Regions from separate parts of the Homo sapiens genome. Here region 1 is linked to region 2. Evidence: promoter capture Hi-C in human tissues and cell types (Jung and others, 2019). All regions are on one chromosome and are shown on one strand. The core of a region is centred on a gene start or on the middle of the fragment in contact, and the rest is flanking DNA. Distances in the headings are between cores, read along the strand shown.

What was found. Contacts are between HindIII fragments. The study calls those that stand out against the background at their distance.
Region 1: a fragment that was not itself captured here is called in contact with the fragment with the promoter of GALNS in region 2 in 1 of the 25 tissues and cell types used here (dorsolateral prefrontal cortex).

The regions. Positions count from the first base shown.
Region 1 is chr16:89,715,823-89,718,522 of GRCh38, reverse strand. It overlaps VPS9D1 (VPS9 domain containing 1), which reads left to right. Exons shown (of 15, transcript NM_004913.3): 3 at 1,701-1,793; 4 at 1,899-2,061. It overlaps VPS9D1-AS1 (VPS9D1 antisense RNA 1), which reads right to left. Exons shown (of 4, transcript NR_036480.1): 3 at 1,619-2,052; 4 at 358-1,179. Among named protein-coding and RNA genes, the nearest start is that of VPS9D1, 3.7 kb to the left of the region's middle. The HindIII fragment of the contact is 3,293 bases long and covers 1-2,700 here.
Region 2 is chr16:88,855,648-88,858,347 of GRCh38, reverse strand. It overlaps GALNS (galactosamine (N-acetyl)-6-sulfatase), which reads left to right and starts at 1,401. Exons shown (of 14, transcript NM_000512.5): 1 at 1,401-1,590. The coding sequence starts at 1,471. TRAPPC2L (trafficking protein particle complex subunit 2L) reads right to left here and starts at 1,221. Exons shown (of 5, transcript NM_001318525.2): 1 at 1,165-1,221. The coding sequence starts at 1,197. It overlaps LOC107983950 (a long non-coding RNA gene), which reads left to right and starts at 1,768. Exons shown (of 2, transcript XR_933884.3): 1 at 1,768-1,897; 2 at 2,047-2,700. RefSeq lists a silencer at 1,269-1,668. The HindIII fragment of the contact is 6,299 bases long and covers 1-2,700 here.

The DNA of each region.
Region 1 (2,700 bases), core at 150-2,649, 860 kb before region 2:
GAAGATGGAGACTGGGGTGTGGCAAGACACTGGCTCCAGTGAGCGGCACAGACGTGGGGCAGCATTCCAGCTGTGGGGTGTGCAAAGGCCCTGAAATAGGAGTGGGCGGGGTGGGGCTGTGTGCATGCCTTGGGTGGAACTGGGGCCGTTCTGGTGTGCAGGGAAACTTGAAGAGACTTTGAGCTTTGAGGGAGAGGACAGCCTGGGAGTGGAGCCTCAGGTGAGGACTGAGGATGGCAGTGGCCAGACCACCCAGGATGGGAGCAGTAAACGGCCTCGGGGTGCGTCCTGAAGGTGGAACAGAGCAGACTTGCAGGAGGCAGATGGGGCAGGAGCAAACTGGCAAGGAGAGGAATAGCAAGTTCCGCAATGAACACATTAAGTTTGAGAGGCCAGCAGCCGCTGCACAAAGGATCACAGAGGTCAGGGGGAGCCACTGGACATAGAGCACAGAGGTCAGGGGGAGCCACTGGACGTGGGATCACAGAGGTCAGGGGGACCCACTGGACGTGGGAGCACAGAGGTCGGGGGAGCCACTGGACGTGGGAGCACAGAGGTCGGGGGAGCCACTGGACGTGGGAGCACAGAGGTCGGGGGAGCCACTGGACGTGGGATCACAGAGGTCGGGGGAGCCCCTGGACGTGGGATCACAGAGGTCGGGGCAGCCACTGGACGTAGGATCACACAGGTCAGGGGGAGCTAACAGTTGCCCCAGCTCCCTAGGGAGCCGGTGAGCTCGGCTGAGCTCTGGCGCTCCAAGATTGAGGAGTTGGGTGGAGGAGTGGCAGAGGATCCCCTGGGGAGAGCAAAGTCCCAGAAGACAGAGGAACTCCAGTGGCCCACCGTGTCTGGCAAGGTGGGGACGGGTAAGGGCAGTTTCCGGGGGGAGTCGGGGGCTAAATCGGGGCGGGATGAGAAAATGGGAGTCTATGAGAAGTTTTCTGTGAAGGGCAGCAGGGAGGTGGGTCAGGCGCTGGGGCGGTGGGTCCAGGGGCGAGTCACAGAGAGGCAGCTCCCACGGCGCGCAGAAGGGCTGTGTGAGCAGGTCCATGGTCGCGCAGAGGTGCTCCATGCCAAGCTACGGGAAGGCAGGACTTTGGGGACACAGCCGGTGGGAGATGGGTGAGGCGATCCCCTCAGCACGTCCTTGTCTCTGTAAAACGGCCACTTCCCAGAGGCCTGCAGTTGCAAGTGAAGCTGAGTGAGCACTAAAGGCCTGTTTAGGGTCGAGGCTGTGACGGGCCTCGATGAGGGGCCCACAGCCTTAGCAGACTCAGGAGGCAAAACCAGGGCAGATGATTAGAAATGCGTGGGTGGGGGGACTTGCCTGGGGTCCATGGTGGGGGCAGGGGCCTTGCCTGGGGTCCATGAGGAATAGTCGGCTTGCCCGGGGTCAGTGGGGGGTGGAAGGGGCAGTGGGCTTACCCGGGGTGAGGGGATGGGGGGGCAGTGGGCTTGCCTAGGGTCAGTCAGTTGGGGGACGGGAGGGGCAGTGGGCTTACCCGGGGTGAGGGGATGGGGGGGCAGTGGGCTTGCCCAGGGTCAGTGAGGGGATGGGGGGGCAGTGGGCTTGCCCGGGGTCAGTGGGGGTGCTGAGGGGGGCAGTGGGCTTGCCTGCCTTTTCCGTTGCCTCATTTTATCTCAGCAGTAAGTAACAGTGGTAGAGCCGACTGTGACCAGCCTTCTTGTCCCTCCCCCAGAAGCTGGGGAAACTGTGCCCCCCGACACCTCCAAGATGCTGAAGCTAGCACAGCAGTGTCTGGAGAGGGCCCAGTCGACGGCCGCCAAGCTTGGTGGGTCTCCTGCAGTAGGCGGCTCTCCTGGGGCATCCCCCAAGCCCGCATCTCCTCTGTGGGATGTGGCCCACCGCTTGACCCCTGGTTACCCATGGCTTGCAGGGAAAACACGCCTGAAGCCAACCATGCCTGCAGCTGCTCCCATTCCCCAGCCTGCCGGCCGACACCGCCGTGTATACTCCGATGAAGGAGGAAAGCTCTCTCCTTTTCTGCCACCCGAGATCTTCCAGAAGCTTCAGGGGGCAGAGTCACAAAGCTGTAAGAAGTAAGATGGACAAGATGGGAGGTGGGATGAGCCTGGGATTGGGTTTTTGAGGCTGAGAAAGATGAGCTGATGACAGCGATTTTTTTTTTGTTTTTTGAGACAGAGTCTCACTCTGTCACCCAGGCTGGAGTGCAGCGGCTCAATCTTGGCTCACGGCAACCTCCACCTCCCGGGTTCACACCATTCTTCTGCCTCAGCCTCCCAAGTAGCTGAGACTACAGGCGCCCACCACCACACCCAGCTAATTTTTTGTATTTTTAGTAGAGACGGGGTTTTGCCATGTTAGCCAGGATGGTTTCGATCTCCTGACCTCGTGATGCGCCTGCCTCGGCCTCCCACAGTGCTGGGATTACAGCGTGAGTCACCGCGCCCGGCCCCCACAGTGCTGGGATTACAGGCATGAGCCACTGCGCCTGGCCTGACAGCGAATGTTTTTAAAATGAGTCCCAGAATGGGAATATCCCCTGGCCGGACACAAGCAAATGCAGGCGGCCTGGTGGCTCACGCCTGTAATCCCAGCACTGTAGGAGGCCGAGGCGAGCAGATCACCTGAGGTCAGGAGTTCCTGACCAGCCTGGCCAACATGGTAAAACCCCGTCTTTACTAAAAATACAAAAATTAGCTGGCCGTGGTGGTGTG
Region 2 (2,700 bases), core at 152-2,651:
GCCGATCAAGCCTGGCACCTGGGCACGCCTCTCACCTTCTCCTGGAGGCCACTCTGCCTCAGCCCACCTCTAACTCTGCATGGCTCACCCAAATACAGCACCCTCAATACTGGCTTTTCTTCACCTTGACAGTGACCCTTTTACTAAACCCTTCAAGACTCAGCTCAAATTCCCTTCATCTCTGCATTTCTGACCATTGGAAGCCCAGAATTAACAGCTTCTTTCTCGGTCTTTCACACACCACCATTTACCCTGTGTGTGTTCAGCACTGGGTCCTGCACAAATACAGTGAACAAGAGTCCTCGCTACCCTCGTGGGGAGTGATACCTAGTCAATAAACCCACAAACAAGCAAATGATCATCTTGGCCAAGAGGGAAGCCCATGAGCAGCTTAGCAGCAGCCACCGCCCAGCAGGGAGCGGTCTCGAGTCTGGTCTCGGGAGACCCTGGCTAGGAAATGAAGGCTCCGTGCAGCAGGAGCGTGTGGGCAGCCACCCAGCTCAGTCTTAGCCTTCAGAAAATGCTTTCCAGTTGAAATGTATGTGGGCCAGTAAAGAGGATGGGAGCTGGGGAGAGGTGTTCCGCGTGCAAAGGCCCACAGGTGAGAGGGCAGAGCATGTCCAGGGAGCTGCAGAATTGTTTGGTTGGAGCGGAGAGTGCCAAGGGTTATGGGGGGAAAGGATCCCAGAGCAGGTTATTCAGACAGCATCCTAAGGCAACGAGAAGCCACTGCAGAGGTCTCAGGCAGAGGCGTGACAGGATCCGATTTGTTTTTAACTCGGCTCCGGGGAGACTGGCAGGAGGGCCGGGGCCGCCGTCCGCGGGGAACCAGCGCTGGACGGGAGAACGGGCAGAACCTGCTGAGGACGGAGGACGGAGGTAGTGCCCGGGACCACCTAGGTTTCTGGTGGGTCCTGGCGGGGAGGAGACCTGCTGCGCCGAGGGGTGCGTTCAGCAGCGGGACGGGCGAGCGCGGAACTGGGGTCTCAGTCAGGGTCTGCCTGGCGGCTCGTCCACCGCGAAGCCCCTGACCGCTGGAGCTCGGCGAAGGCCTCCTCCAGGTCCCATTTCCTAAGGTGCCTTCTAAGCCCAGGGAAGAAGTAGAAAGAAAGCGGAGAGCCGAGGATGGTGCGAGCCCGGACGCCCCACGCCGCGCGTACGCACCTCCTTGGCAATCACCGCGATGCACACCGCCATCTTGGGAGGCTCGGCGCCAGGCACCGCGTCACGTGACCCGCCGCTGGTCACGCGGCCTCCAAAGCCCCGCCCCATCCGCACACAGCTGGCTCAGGCCCCGCCCCACTGGTCACGAGGCAGTCCAGGCCCCGCCTCCCGTCCCTCCGCGGACTCTGGCCCCGCCCCGCGAGTCACGTGGCCGTCCAGGCCCCGCCCCGCAGCCCAGCCGGAAGGGCCGGCGGACGCTCGCTAGGTCGGCTCGCTGGCCGGGGCTCCGCGGCTCCCGTGGTTGCCATGGCGGCGGTTGTCGCGGCGACGAGGTGGTGGCAGCTGTTGCTGGTGCTCAGCGCCGCGGGGATGGGGGCCTCGGGCGCCCCGCAGCCCCCCAACATCCTGCTCCTGCTCATGGACGACGTGAGTGCGGGCGGTGGGACGGGGCAGGGCCGGGGTGGGGCGGGGAGGGGAGGGGCGGATGGAGGGAGGAGCGAGGTGGGGGAAGGGCGGGCGGGGTGGGGGGAGAGGTGAGGGGAGGCCCCTTGGGGAAGGGGGGAGGCCCCGCGCGGGGAGGAGGAGGGGGAGGGGACGGGGGGTATCCCCGTGCGGGGAGGGGGAGGCCCCTCGGGGAGTGGCCGCGGGGTCCAGGCGTGGGGTCTCGGCGGTCACCGATCACCACACGCGCTGCCACTGTGCTGCATGACCGGGACAGCGTCCTCCCTGGCAGGTGGGTGGCCGGCGTGCTACCGGGCCCTGCCTCCCCCGTCTGACCTTTCCCGCCCTCTACTCTTGGGAAAGGTGGGCGCGCAGCGTGGCCTCCCCAAAGGGAGGAAGAGGCTGCTCCTGCCGCCCTGCCTGAGAGCTGCGTCGCCCTAGGAATCACTCCCGCCACCTCGGGCCGCCGGGTCCCCCCGCTGGGCTCCAGTCTTACCTGACGGCTGTCTCTGTCCTCTGGAGAATGCTGAGCGAAGGTCAGGTGTCCCTAAGGTCTGAAGAACTGAAAGGCTGGAATGTCTCCTGGTGGGCAAGTGCGGGGTCAGGGGTCACAGCCAGCCTGGAGGCCTCCTTCCCTAACTCCTTGTGGGAGCCACCTGGAGACTCAGGAATGAGCCTGCCTGGGGCATGGGTCACCGTGCAGGACCCCAGACACACCTGGGTTGAAACCCTACTGTCTCCAAGCTTGGGGGTCACTTCCATTCTTGAACCTCAGCTGCCACACCTGGGGGGTTACACCTGTCCCGCCGTGCTCACGTTGTGTGTGAGGACTGGGACGACACCGAGTACCAGACAGTTTTGGGCCGTCGGTGTCGCTCAGCCCCTGTGTGCTGGCTCCGACCAGCAGAGACCCTGACAGGTGCCTTCAGACCCACCTGTGCTGACCAGTGGGGGCCACGGGCCACACCCAAGGGCTGGGCAGTCGTGGCTGTCGGAATTGGAAGGTGCTGGTAGTGTAAAATACACAGATTTAGAAGACTTGGTGAAAGAAAAATAATGTAAAATATCTCACTTAACAATTTTATTAAATTAATG